4 separate regions of the Homo sapiens genome follow, and all the other regions are linked to region 2. Evidence: promoter capture Hi-C in 16 types of primary human blood cells and fetal thymus (Javierre and others, 2016). All regions are on one chromosome and are shown on one strand. The core of a region is centred on a gene start or on the middle of the fragment in contact, and the rest is flanking DNA. Distances in the headings are between cores, read along the strand shown. Region 1 overlaps SIK3 (SIK family kinase 3). Region 2 holds the start of PAFAH1B2 (platelet activating factor acetylhydrolase 1b catalytic subunit 2). Region 3 overlaps SIK3 (SIK family kinase 3). Region 4 overlaps SIK3 (SIK family kinase 3).

Evidence for each region. Contacts are between HindIII fragments. The CHiCAGO score rates a contact against its expected background, and 5 or more counts as called.
Region 1: a fragment that was not itself captured here is called in contact with the fragment with the promoter of PAFAH1B2 in region 2 in 3 of 17 cell types (total CD8 T cells, total B cells and naive CD4 T cells); the score reaches 6.4 in total CD8 T cells.
Region 3: a fragment that was not itself captured here is called in contact with the fragment with the promoter of PAFAH1B2 in region 2 in 1 of 17 cell types (total CD8 T cells); the score reaches 5.6 in total CD8 T cells.
Region 4: a fragment that was not itself captured here is called in contact with the fragment with the promoter of PAFAH1B2 in region 2 in 7 of 17 cell types (total B cells, total CD8 T cells, monocytes and 4 more); the score reaches 7.5 in total B cells.

The regions. Positions count from the first base shown.
Region 1 is chr11:116,931,249-116,934,656 of GRCh38, forward strand. All of the region lies in intron 3 of SIK3 (SIK family kinase 3), which reads right to left. Among named protein-coding and RNA genes, the nearest start is that of APOA1, 95 kb to the left of the region's middle. The HindIII fragment of the contact is 4,518 bases long and covers 1-3,408 here.
Region 2 is chr11:117,142,170-117,145,833 of GRCh38, forward strand. PAFAH1B2 (platelet activating factor acetylhydrolase 1b catalytic subunit 2) reads left to right here and starts at 2,118. Exons shown (of 6, transcript NM_002572.4): 1 at 2,118-2,249. RefSeq lists a silencer at 2,328-2,647 and an enhancer at 3,198-3,377. The HindIII fragment of the contact is 2,379 bases long and covers 1,479-3,664 here.
Region 3 is chr11:116,997,911-117,001,374 of GRCh38, forward strand. All of the region lies in intron 1 of SIK3 (SIK family kinase 3), which reads right to left. Among named protein-coding and RNA genes, the nearest start is that of SIK3, 99 kb to the right of the region's middle. The HindIII fragment of the contact is 1,264 bases long and covers 999-2,262 here.
Region 4 is chr11:116,960,164-116,963,532 of GRCh38, forward strand. All of the region lies in intron 1 of SIK3 (SIK family kinase 3), which reads right to left. Among named protein-coding and RNA genes, the nearest start is that of APOA1, 120 kb to the left of the region's middle. The HindIII fragment of the contact is 1,887 bases long and covers 398-2,284 here.

The DNA.
Region 1 (3,408 bases), core at 601-3,100, 210 kb before region 2:
TAAGTTTGCTTCAGAATTCACTGTTTGTAATTTTGTCCCAATCTTACTCAGGAAGAAAATATCTTGTGGTACATTTAGGTTCTGACCTTTCAAAGAGCAAAAATACACAGAAGCCAGTCTTACCTTCCCTAGGCCAGCTTCAATGGAGTGTCAGAGGTATGCCACTAATGGGATAGTGGTGCGGAGCCAACATTTCTTAAAATAAGTCACTTTTCCACTCTAAACAGACAGTGTCTCCATTTGTCTGCTAAGTCTACAACTCATAGTTGATGCAAAACACTAGCTGAAAATGAACATACCCTGACAGCAGGACAAGCAATAGGCAGAAATACCACATTTCAGTGAAGAATGAACCCAGCCTAGAAAAGGGAAAAGGCAGTATGTGTGCTCATCTTCATCTTAGGTGACTACCTGAAAAAACTTCTGCCAATTCCAAACTAACCACAGCTAGTAGTTCTTTGCTTTGCCACTCAGTTCTATCATTTCTTCTTCCTACACCCATGGAAACGACTTCCTGTTTATCAAACAAACGCTTCTTTCCAAAAAAGCAGGGCGAGGCCAAGATAACTCAGCTCCCCCTAAGCAGGTTAATAAGAGTGCAGTCACTTTAATATCCTATTGTCCTCTAACTCCCAGGCGTGGCTGCCACTGACTAGAGGAAGAGGGTTTGTCATTTTGTCTTTCTTGCCAAGAATCCAACTACCTCTTACCGGGCTTCTTGACTTGTTGCTGCTTCTTGTTACTATCTCTTTTCTTTGCTCCTCCATTGACCAGGCCAAAAACTTTTATGGCATCTTTCATTCTTCTCTTTCTCTCACACCCTGCATCCTATCCATCAGCAAATTCTATTAACTCTACGTTCAAATCATATTCAGAATCCAACTATTTCTCACCCCTGCCTTCACTCCACTCTAGTGCCACCAGCCTCATTTAACAGCAACTACCTCACTCCTAGATTTCTGCAATAACCTCCTAGGATTACTCCTCAAAAGAGCAGCCAAGGTAGTAATCTTTTTTTAAAAACTTTTTATTTTGAGATAATTATAGATTCACAGGAAGTTGCAAAGACAGTGCAGAGAGGTCCCGTGTACCCTTCGCCCAGTTTCCGCCAATGGTTAAATCTTATATAATTATAGAACGATATCAAAACCCAGAATTTGACATGGGTACAATGCGTATGTATAGTTCTATGTCACTTTATCACATGTGTAGATTTGTGGAACAACAACTGCAATTACTACAATAGCAATTACAACTATTCGGACTCAGTCATTACTGAGTACTCTCACATATATGCCTGCATGTGTAAACGGATCTTGCCTTTCCCCTGTTCAATTTTTTGTATCAAAAAAAGATACAAAAATATTTCACCACCACAAAGATCTCCGTTGCACTACCCCTACACAGTCATGCTTGTTCCTCTATGCCCCACCATCCCTAACTCCTAGAAACCACTAATCTGTTTCCCATTTATGTAATTTCATCATTTTAAGAACACTATATAAACAGAATCATACAGTCGGCGACCTTTTGAGATTGGCTTTTTTATTTTCTTGTTTTTGTTTGTTTGTTTTTTGAGAAAGAGTCATTCAAGCTGGACTGCAGTGGCAAGATCACGGCTCACTGCAGCCTTGACCTCCTCCCACCTCAGCCTCCCAAGCAGCTAGGACTACAAGCATCTGCCACCATGCCTAGCTAATTATTTAGAGGTAGGGTTTCACCAAGTTGACCAAGCTGGTCTCAAACTCATGGGCTCAAGTGATATTCCTGCCTAGGCCTTCCAAAGTGTTGGGATTACAGGCATAAACCACCATGACTGGCCTGATATTTTTAGTCACCATAATGTCCTTAAGATCCATCCAAGTTGATGTGTCTATTAACCTTGCTCCTTTTTTTTTTTTTTTTCTTTTTTGAGGCAGAGTCTCACTGTCACCCAGGATGGAGTGCAGTGGTGCAATCTTGGCTCACTGCAACCTCCACCTCCTGGGTTCAAGTGATTCTCCTGCCTCAGCCTCCCAAGTAGCTGGGACTACAGGCGTGCGCCACCACACCCGGCTAATTTTTGCATTTTTAGTAGAGACAGGGTTTCACCATATTGGCCAGGCTGGTCTCAAACTCCTGACCTCGTGCTCCACCCGCCTCAGCCCCCCAAAGTGCTGGGATTACAGGCGTGAGCCACTGCACCTGGCCCCATTTGCTCCTTTTTACTGCTGAGTAGTACAGCATGGAATAGATGTACAAGAGTTTCCTTATCCATTCACCTACTGAAGGACATTTTGGTTGTTTCCAGTTCTTAGCTATTACAAAGAAAGCTGCTATCAACAATTAAACAATTGTGTATAGAATTTTATATGAATATAAGTTTGCATTTTCTCTTTTCTTCCTTCCTCTCTCTCTCTCTCTCTCTCAAGAGACAAGGTCTTGCTGTGTTGCCCATGTTGGAGTGCAGTGGCCCAATCATGGCTCATTGTAGCCTCAAACTCCTACACTCAAACAATTAAGTCTGCATTTCTATGTAGCAGGGTAATTCTCTTAAATCTTAAATAAGATCACATCATTTTTTTCTGTCAAAACCTCCGGATGGGTTCCCAGCTCATGACCTTTGACCTTACCTTCTTTCACTGGCTCTTTTGTTCTACTATAATCACATATGCCACCTTGCTATTTCTCAAACACAGCAGAAATACTCCTGCCACAGGGCCTTTGTTCTTTCTATTCTTTCTACTTGGAATGCTCCTCCCCAAATAGCTGCATGATCTTTTACAAAAGTATAACCTTCTCAGAGAGGTCTTTCCTATCTCTATTGTCAGCTTACCTCCTGATATTTCAATTTCATATTCACTTCCCCTACGCACTTTATCATTTTCTAACAAATGACACATTCTACCCTACTTAGTTGGTGTACTATCTGTCTTCTCCACTAGAAAACAAGCTCCATGAGGGCAGGCATTCTTGCCATTTTGTTCAATACTGTGTCTAGTACAATGAACGGTATCTGACGCATATTAAGCACTTAATAAGTATTTATTAAAAGAACAAAAGATGATTGAATACATTCCTATCCCTGTTTATTAAAACTATTTCCTGAACCTTAGATTTTATTAGCAAAATGAATGCTAAATGCTATTGCTCACCTCAATGAATTCAAGAGTCTTCCCAACTAATCTAAAAAGGCACACTAACATATATGACCTGTCTTCATATATCCAAGTCTGTACTTGGCATACAAGCAAAAAGTATACTAAATTTTCTTCTGTCTCTTCCAAATAAACTAAACTTTTTCCCTGAGAGTTTTGAGACAACACAATTTCTTCGTGAAACACATTATCACAGGATATGCTTTAGTTTTGAAAATGTGGAACTAGAACTATTTTTTTCTATGCCTCCTTATTACACATAAAATAGTAC
Region 2 (3,664 bases), core at 868-3,367:
ACAAAAACAAGAAATGGGGAAAGGATTCCCTATTTAATAAATGGTGCCAGGAAAACTGGCTAGCCATATGTAGAAAGCTGAAACTGGATCCCTTCCTTACACCTTATACAAAAATTAATTCAAGATGGAGTAAAGACTTAAATGTTAGACCTAAAACCATAAAAACCCTAGAAGAAAACATAGGCAATACCATTCAGGACATAGGCATGGGCAAAGACTTCCTGACTAAAACACCACAAGCAATGGCAACAAAAGCCAGAATAGACAAATGGGATATAATTAAACTAAAGAGCTTCTGCATGGCAAAAGAAACTACCATCAGAGCGAACAGGCAACCTACAGAATGGGAGAAAATTTTTGCAATCTACCCATCTGACAAAGGGCTAATATCCAGAATCTACAAAGAACTTAAACAAATTTACAAGAAAAAAAACAAACAACCCCATCAAAAAGTGGGCAAAGGATATGAACAGACACTTCTCAAAAGAAGACATTTATGCAACCAACAGACACATGAAAAAATGCTCATCATCACTGGTCATCAGAGAAATGCAAATCAAAACCACAATGAGATACCATCTCATGCCAGTTAGAATGGCGATCATTAAAAAGTCAGGAAACAACAGATGCTGGAGAGGATGTGGAGAAAGAGGAACACTTTTACACTGTTGGAGGGAGTGTAAATTAATTCAACCATTGTGAAAGACAGTGTGGCGATTCCTCAAGGATCTAGAACTAGAAATACCATTTGACCCAGCCATCCCATTACTGGGTATATACCCAAAGGATTATAAATCATGCTGCTATAAAGATACATGCACACGTATGTTTATTGTGGCACTATTCACAATAGCAAAGACTTGGAACCAACCCAAATGTCCATCAATGATAGACTGGATTAAGAAAATGTGGCACATATACACCACGAAATACTATGCAGCTGTAAAAAGGATGAGTTCATATCCTTTGCAGGGACATGGACGAAACTGGAAACCATCATTCTCAGCAAACTATCACAAGGACAGAAAACCAAACACCGCATGTTCTCATAGGTGGGAATTGAACACTGAGAACACTTGGACAAAGGGCGGGGAACATCACACACGGGGGCCTGTCGGGGACTGCGGGGCTGGGGGAGGGATAGCATTAGGAGAAATACGGAATGTAAATGACGAGTTGATGGGTGCAGCAAACCAACATGGCACACGTATACCTATGTAACAAACCTGCACGTTGTGCACATGTACCCTAGAACTTGAATAAAAAAAAAAAAAAAAAAGAAAAATTACTTGACATATCTTGACATTTTAGGCTCCCAGGATTTTACAGTATTCTTAACAGGTTTTGTCAGCAAAATCAACCCCCACCCCCGCATCAGTTTAAGAGCCCTGGAAGGCTCTGCCTATTCACCAGCATAGAGCTGAGATCCTTAAAGGGCCAGTTCAGGGCACTGCTCCAGCAACCGTTGCGCTGCTATAAGCTTGAGCACATCTCTTGCCCCTCCTCTCTACTTTTATAGATCCTGCATTTATTTAGCATATAATCTTTTCAATATTGACTTTGTATATGTATGTCTTCCCCTAAACTGGATGTATCTTTTAAGGAAAAGCCTGGGGTTCGTCATCCCCCTATGTATCACCTTTACAGGCGGTCACCCAAAATCTCCACATTCATCATAGAAACAGAAATTCCACTAATAAATGTCAGGTACTGCCTCCTTAACCTTGGTCCGCTATTTCCCTCCCACTTTCAGCAGTCTGGTTTATTCCATGGGTGGAAGAGGAAGCCAAGTTGGCTGAGTGTGAAGGGAATGGCGTCAGTGTGACTTCACGCCACATCGTCCCGAATGCCAGCTCCACACTGCGGTGGCACGAACGCAGGATTGAGAGATGCAGCTGGAGTAAAGAGAGAAGCCCATGTCCCTCAGACGCCACACAAAATGGGGGTAACCGCGAGAACAAAGCAGGGTACCCAACGGGGTGTGGCGGGACACCTGGGCGCACGCCGCCAGCGCCCGGGAGAGCGAAGGCGGGGAGAGAGGAACCACGCTGAGGCGTGGCAGGATGGGGGCGGGACTTCCGGAAGCCATTTGGCTGAGTGGCAGGGGAACCGGAAGTGGAGGAGCTGCTGCTGGTGCTGGGGCCGGAGGAGGGACGCGCCGGAGCGGGACCGACGGGACCGAGCGAGCGACCGACGCGCCACCCGCCGACGCCTCAGCCGCTTGGGGCCCGCACGGACCCTCTACTTCAGTGAGTGCATCCAGGGTCGCAGGGAACCGGTGGCTTAGAGGCGGGGGTCGGAAGGGGCTGCGAGGTGTTATTGTGAGAGGCCCGCGACCTCCCCTCCCCCACCCTTGCGGCCCCTCCCCCCACGCCGCCCCATCCACTTGGGGGGGGCCTCGCGAGCGCGCGCCTTCTCTGCGGGCCCAGCGTCGGCTTCCCAGCAGCCGGCGCAGCTAGTTTTCGCTCTGAGAGCCCTTTCCCGATATTCCATACCGAAAGCTGGCGTTTCTCCTCAGCCGCCGGCCGGCGCCTCCACGGCCTTTCCCAGGAGGGTAGCGCGGCGGGCGCCCCGCCCCGCCCTGCCCTGCCCTGCCCTGCCGGGCCCACCCGCGGTAGGCCTTGCGCACCCCAGCTCGCCCCGGCTGGGCGCTGCAGCTCCTGCCCGGGTCTCCGCTGCTGCCTTTTCCCTTTATCACAGGGGTCTAACTTCTCACTCTTCTCTCCCCTCGCGTCTGGTCGGAGGCCAAAACCAGTTACTCCGTTGTGTTTTTACCGAGCACTTTTCCCTCCTCCTTTTGTTGAAAAATTTCAACTCTTTAGAAACTTCTCCGTTGCCTCTTAGGATGTGTTTATTCAAAAGTTGCATAGACCGTCACCACTCGGAAGGGATTATTTCTTGGAAGGCTTTCCAGCCCCCATCTCATCTTAGACATGAATGTGCTCGGAGCGGCTGGTGACCTGCCCAAGGTCAGCCAGCTAGATAAACCTGTCAGCGGAGAGGTTTGGGGGGATGTTTTTTTCCTGGCTCACCGTCCGTTTGCCAGATCCGTGCCTTCTGGTCTACAGGTTTGATTGACCCGTTGCGTGGTGACTCATGCTTCTGCTTTTCATAGCTCGCAGGCCAGCGTTGCTTTTCAGAATTTATACACAAACAAGAACTAACACTCGGAGCTTTCGCCTCTTTGTAGAGCTTACCCGTAGAGAAAGGAAAGACCACCCGGATCCACCCTAGGACCTCATTTTGTACAGCTTGAAATTATGGGAAGGGGTTGGGCCGGGGGTAAAGGTGTGGAGAAAGTGGAAGGAGAAAGTGCTTAATTAAGATTGTCTTTGCCTTGGATGTGCCTTGTGTCTTTGGCTTCTTCTGGGCACATTGTTCTGACATAAAGGTTGCCTCCTTGTGGGGGAGAAGGGGAGGATTAGTTTGTTGGCTTGGGCATTTGATCATAAATTATGGAGGTGCTGGACCGGAGGAACCACCCACCAGCCCACGGAGGCTACCGGGCATTCAGGATAAGGGCCGCCTTCTTCTTCAGAATAACCATACCCACTCCCTCTGAAACAAAGTGGAGAGTCTTAGGTCTGAGTGGAAACTCTAAATCTTTTAATTCTTGGTTCAACTTTCTTCATCTGTTTTCCTGGTTCAGACTAAAACATCTAAC
Region 3 (3,464 bases), core at 381-2,880, 140 kb before region 2:
GTGCAGTGCCATAATCATAGCTCATTGCAGCTTTAAATTCCTGGGCTCAAGCAATCCTCCTGACTCAGCCTCCCAAGTAGCTAGGACTACAGGTGCACACCACCCAGTAATTCTTTTTATTTTTATAAAGACAGGGTCTTGCTATGTTACCCAGGCTGGTCTCAAACTGTTGGGCTCAAGTGATCCTCCTGCCTCAGCCTCCAAGAAAACAACAGTTTATGTTTTTACCTCCACAGGTAGTGTATATGATAATTTAAAAAAAAAAAAAAGCTATTCCAATATGCAAGGAAAGAAAAGTAAGTAAAATACTGACAACTTTGGGAGGCTGAGGCAGGCAGATCACAAGGTCAGGAGTTTGAAACCAGCCTGACTAACATGGTGAAACCCCGTCTCTACTAAAAATACAAAAAATTAGCCAGGCATGGTGGCGCACGCCTGTAGTCCCAGCTACTCAGGAGGCTGAGGCAGGAGAATCACTTGAACCCTGGAGGCGAAGGCTGCAGTGAGCTGAGATCATGCCATTGCACTCCAGCATGGGCGAAAGAACAAGACTCCGTCTTAAAAAAAAAAAAAAAAAAAAAATTGACAACCGCTCTTGGAAAAATATCTGAAATTCCTCCTCTTAGCTATAATGGATTTGGGATGTAAAGAGAAACAAATATTTAAAATCTCAATTTCACTATCATGAGAGTCAGGGACTTCAACCATGATCTCATAAAGAAAAAAAATGGCAGGACAAAGGTATGGCTTTCACCATTTCCTCAACCAACTTTATCACTCTAATGCCTCGAGAAAGCCCAGCTAGGGCCTGGCACACAGAGGTTTCATTTAATCTAGTGCTCTGCTCTTTCCACAACTCTAAGAGCACTGAAATTTTTAGAGCCACAGAATCATAAATCTATAGGAGTACAGATATATAAATTTTTGTTTACTATAAGTATGAAATTATTGATCATACAAATATAGAAACTTAGTCAAAATCCCAAACTAATCCAAAAAGCTTAATCAAACTAAAAGTGTATAGTTAGACAATTATTTTTACTAAGTGACCCATTTTGAGTAAGTTAAGATAAAACTGACAAATACAGGTAGCCTCAAGAACAAAGGTATATAAAATCAAGGCAAATTCCAAATCCAATTCCAGATTTAAACAACTAATGAGAGTGTTTAGTTTTTACTTCAGAAGATGTATGAAAAATATAGTTTCACAAACACAAGGGAACCAAACTTGCCTAGAGTTTGACCATATTGTTTAAAATGTTAGAACAGTTCTGGAATCATAGGTTTGAATCCAAAGTTTTAAAGCATTTTGTTTCTTATCAGTTGATATACTTCACTTGTAGGTCCATCTCTTCTTTATGCTAAGTTGTACTAACAGAACAGACATTTTGTAATTAAGACATATATGTGTTTGCACTCCAACTACGGTTGTAAACTTAAATGTCTGACTTTTCTGAAACTCAACTTCAATTCTTTCTAAAAAAAATTTTTTTAATCTGTGATTCCTCTGAGCACAGGGCAATCATCAATGACAACTAAGTTTCAAATTCTAACTGCCCACTATTGAATTTAGATGGACACCTGTTTGCATCAGTTTGAAGTGCAACATATTCATATGTCTTGTGAGATCTCTTTTCATTTTCATCTCTTTGTTTTTTGTGGCATTTTGTTTTCTTTTCTTTTCTTTTCTTTTTTGTTTTTTCAGTAGAGATGGGGTTTCACCAGGCTGGTCTCAAACTCCTGGCCTCAAGTGGTCTACCCACCTCAGCCTTCCAAAGTGCTGGGATTACAGGCGTGAGCCACTGCACCCAGCCCATTTTCATTTGTTTTCTCCCTCTTCTAAACAACATTGCAGTAAATACTCTTATGACTACATTCTTGTTTTGACCTACTATTATTTCTATAAGACAAATTCTTAGAAATGAAAATCCTAAGTCAAAGAATATATACTTTCCAGGTTGTTGATACATTATTGAGACATACCATTACTAAATTATTTTCCATTGAAATCATGCCTACCTAGTCCCCAAATCCCAGAGCAACAGTGGGCATAATTTGTTTAATAAAGTTTTTCCATTATGGCAAGTAAAAAAGAATGTAGTTATAATTGCCATTTGTTTGATTGTGCATGATATGTAAGTAAGGTAAATATCTAATATTAGATATGTATATTAGATAGTTATAATTTTTTTCATTGTTGCTAAAACTTTCTATCAGGTCACATTTAGCTCAAGGGCCTATTGCCCAACCTTAATTTTAGCAAGCTTATATAAAAGGGGAAAGTACAGTATGGAATAACACTGTTCTACTATTTCTGTCTTAAAAACGACTTCCTCAAACCTAATGTTGGGCAAGATAACATCTCCATTACTTATGCTCCAATACAGAAGATGTGCACAGGAGACTTGACACAATACTGTGAATAATAAAATCTATCTGCAATTAGCTACACATTGTTAGAGTTTGTAAGTCAGATCAAGCCACTTGGGATTTGTTTGTTTTTTAACCACTTTCTTAGATATCCCTTTTAAAATCTTAAGTGCCTTTTAATGCACAGTTCTGTCATGAAGCCAAGAAATAATAAAATAAGGGGAATATCAATTCTGTCTAATGCTGTCAGATTACTAAAACATTAATGATGAAGCATCATATTAAAGTGATGTATCTTATAAAAGTAACATTAGATCCCATCAAATTATAACTGATTCATCTCTTCCTACCTTGCCCAAACCAAGCTGAAAGACAAAGTAGCTTTCAGGTTCAAGATTTTCTCTAACTTGTCCAATTTATTCAGACACTGCCAGGACCAGCTCCAAAGTGATTACCTGGTTTTTAATGAATGCATTTCTTACAGACTATTAATGTGCTTCCTGATGCCAGCATCGCTGGAAGGGAATAACTAGCCCAATGAGATCATTAGTCATTGACACCAGATTATAGTAACATTAGGAAATGACGACGGGTTGCTTAGCTGCAGTTTTCCAAATGCTGCTAGGATAAAGAGAACTGACAGTAATCACCTCCACAGAGAATCACAGACTAAATCTATCCATTAAACAGTGTTCCTTCATCTTCTCAGCAAAGGAGCTCAGCTACAGAAGTTAACCTTCTTGGCAAACATTCTTTATCTATAGGAACTAGATTATAATATCACTATTCTATCTCCCTCAAAGTTCTTCCACTCTAGTGGGTGGGGCGATAGCACGGAAACCTTCCTCTTCTCTGAGGTTTATGTCACTTGACTGTATGACTATCTAAATTAATGTCTTGACTAATTTCTAGGTCATCTTTCAATGTATAAAAAGTAATCTGAGGCCAGGTGCAGTGGCTCACGCCTGTAATCCCAACACTTTGGGAGGCCAAGGCAGGTGCATCACCTGAGGTCAGGAGTTCAAGACCAGCCTGACAAATATGGTGAAACCCCATCTCTACTAAAACTACAAAAATTAGCCAGGCATGGCGGT
Region 4 (3,369 bases), core at 91-2,590, 180 kb before region 2:
TAATAGATTAAAACATCAAACTCCTGTCTACTCTTCAGTGAGAGTTCAGATTCCAGAAGACATTGAAAAGTGAAGCTTTGGGCCAGGCACGGTGGTTCACGCCTGTAATTCCAGCACTTTGGGAGTTAAAGGCAGGCGGATGGCTTGAGGCGAGGAGTTCAAGACCAGCCTGGGCAACAAAGTGAGACCTCATCTCTACAAAAAATAAAAAAATTAGCCAGGTGTGGTAGTGTGTGCCTGTAGTCCCAGTTACTCAGGAAGCTGAGACAGAAGGATTGCATGAGCCTAGCAAGGGTGAAGTGAGCCGTGATCACGCCACTGCATTGCAATCTGTGCAACAGAATGAGACACTTTCTCCAAAACAAAAAAACAAAACAAAACAAAAAAACCAAAGTGAAGCTTTATTTAGCAGTTGAATATAGTACTGAAAGCAAGGACTCTGAAGACAAGCTACTTAGATTCAAAATCTTGGAACTATCCCTTAATATATAACCTAGAACAGGTTACTTAATTTTCCAATGGCTCCCTATCTGTAAAATGTGGGCAACAATGGAACCTACTTTAAAGTGATTTTGGGGATTAACAAAGCTAATACATGCAACCTGATTAATATAATGCCTGGCACAGTAAACAGGCAATATATGTTAATTACAGGTAGTGCTGTTGTTATTTTATTTTCTTCTGGAATCAAGCCTTCAACTTTAGGCATTCCTTGGCAAGGATTAGATTTGCTTCACTAAGCAACATAATCCTGGATCTGAAACACATCAATTCCTTATTCAAGGGACAAATTGAGGGACCAAGAAGCAAAATAGCTAACAATTTGTGGGCAGCATTCAGAACCAACTGGCTGCCGCCAGCTGATGTGGGAAGAACATGGAAAGAACAGAGCTGGAAAAAAAATAAACGCATTCCATTCAGGAAAGTCACAGTGAGCCATAGGATGGAACCCACAGCAAGACCCGACCCTGAGGGCTGTGGCAGAGAGACACTGGTCTACTTCTTCACAGCAGGCCAGGCTCCCCTTGCCAACCCTACCTACTAGCTAACACCTGAGAGGAGAGAACTTACTGTTGCTTGGCAATGGCATAACTGCCTGATAAGACCACTTAACAGGGAAAGGAACTCAGCTCCTACCTTAGCTGCAAACTGGAAAGTGGGAGTTTTCTAAAAAGCAGAAAAATAAAGTTGGAACAGAGAAACTGCCAAGTCAGACAGCAGGTGGCTGGCACACAGGTATGATTGTTTTGAGAATATCTAAACAGATAAATGAGTATGAGTTTCACAGCTACAGATTACTGAAGACTATATAATAAAGGTTTTGGTGTAAAGTACACACCAGTTGCTTGAAAAACTGAATGTGTCCACAACAAAGGTAAATCAGTAGGTAAAGAAAAGATAAACTCTCAAAGAATGTTATTATATTGGGGTTGAAAATCTATAAATCTCCTAATTGTACTTACATATGAAAATTATAACAAAGCAGAAAACTTCCAACATGTTACCAAGAGACCATATATTTCCTAAGTTTGCCTGTTCTACACAGAATTCTTTTATCTTCCAAAGAGCATGATTTTGTAAATTGACATTCTAATATTAATTAAACATGACACTGTATCAAGTATGCTACTAAAGAGATAACAGATTGTGAGAGTCCTTAATTTCCCTACTCAAGACATTCCCATTCAACAAATTCTTCTGTTTCAATTGGCATGTGGTAGGAAAAAAATTAAATTTAGATCATGCCAAATTTAAAGTCATAGTTCTTTATTATTCATTCTATGAGAGGAAAAATTACTATTTCTCCCTTTTAATTCTCACTTCTAAAAAACACAGTTCTTTTTAACTCAACTCACTTTTGTAAGCACAATAATGTTCATAGTGAATGAAGCTGAAAAAAATAGTGGTTTCTTCACAACAGGCAATAAATTCACTTGCATATTCTGACACCATATTTGTAAGCAAGATACGGCAACAGAGTAAAAGACAATGAACTAAGGGACAGTTCAGCATTAAGATCAAAACAAACCACCCTTCCCCATCAGAAATAAATGCCCTATAGCAGATAGTACGGATTCAGGGATATGCCAGGACAAATGGACAGTTCAAGAAAGAACTACGTAGGAGGGAAATGCAAAGATCACAAGGGCTCAAATTCTTCCAAGACGAGAAAGAGGATCTCCTTACACTGGTATGCAGATGAACATACAGTAATTTCAAAGAATATAGTGAGCAGACTGCATGCTTTTTAGAAGGAAAGAGAAAACATTACAGTTTGAAGAAAAGCTTATTTTTTTAAAAAATTTGTTTTAAGGAAAGAGCTCTATTTCTTTTAGAAATGTCTTTAGAATTTAGGCAGATATCAAACATTTTGTCATTGTAAGCTTTTTTCAATGGGGTTATGTTTTTATACTAACTTCTGTAGCAAAATTTTTATTCTCTATTTTTATGACAAAGCTTATCTACTCTAGAACATTCTCGGCTCAGCTCTACAACTATTTTATGATCTAGATCTGTACAGTGTAATACAGTAGGCACCAGCCACGTGTAACTATCCAGACTGATGCGCTATAAATGTAAAATATATACCAGATTTCAAAGATAGTAATATAAAAAAGAATTAAACTATCTCCCTGATACATTTTTATATTGATTACATGTGGAAATTATAATATTTTAGATATATTAGGCTAAACAAAAGATATTAAAACTAATTTCACCACTTTTTACTTTTTTAATATGATTATTTAAAAATTGTAAATAATATATGTGCCCTCTTTCTCTTGGACGGCACTGATCCACATAATGCCAACAGGCTACATAATTAATCTACCAGTTAAAGGACGTATTCCTTGAAAATGACTTCTGAAATCATTGACTTGATATTGAGAATTGCCAACTGTCTATCTCACAGAAACCTGGCCCAAGTTACAAGGCTCTCAATGCTCAAACATTGCCTTGGGAGAAAATCTCAAATAAGGTCTCAAAAGTTATATTCTAGGAGCTCAATTTAATTCAATTTTTAAAATGTCTATTGAGCAACTGACTGGTTTACTGTACTGCCCTTGTGTGCAGCCATTCCCAGGAGGGGTTCTCTCAGAGAATTAAGTCTTACAGCCTTAAGACAGCAGTTCCCAAACTGTTTGGTCTCAGGACTCCTTCTCTTAAAAGTTAGGAGAAACTTCAAAGAAGTTTTGATTATGTGAGTAATATCTTTCAATATTTGCTTAGAAATCAAATTAAAAATCAGAAATTAAGACAAAAATTTAAAAGACACGTGTATACAACCACACATCTCCTTGGTCATCAGAGCAATTGCAGCATCATACATAGCATAGTCTCTGGAAATCTCTATTTTATAATTGTGAG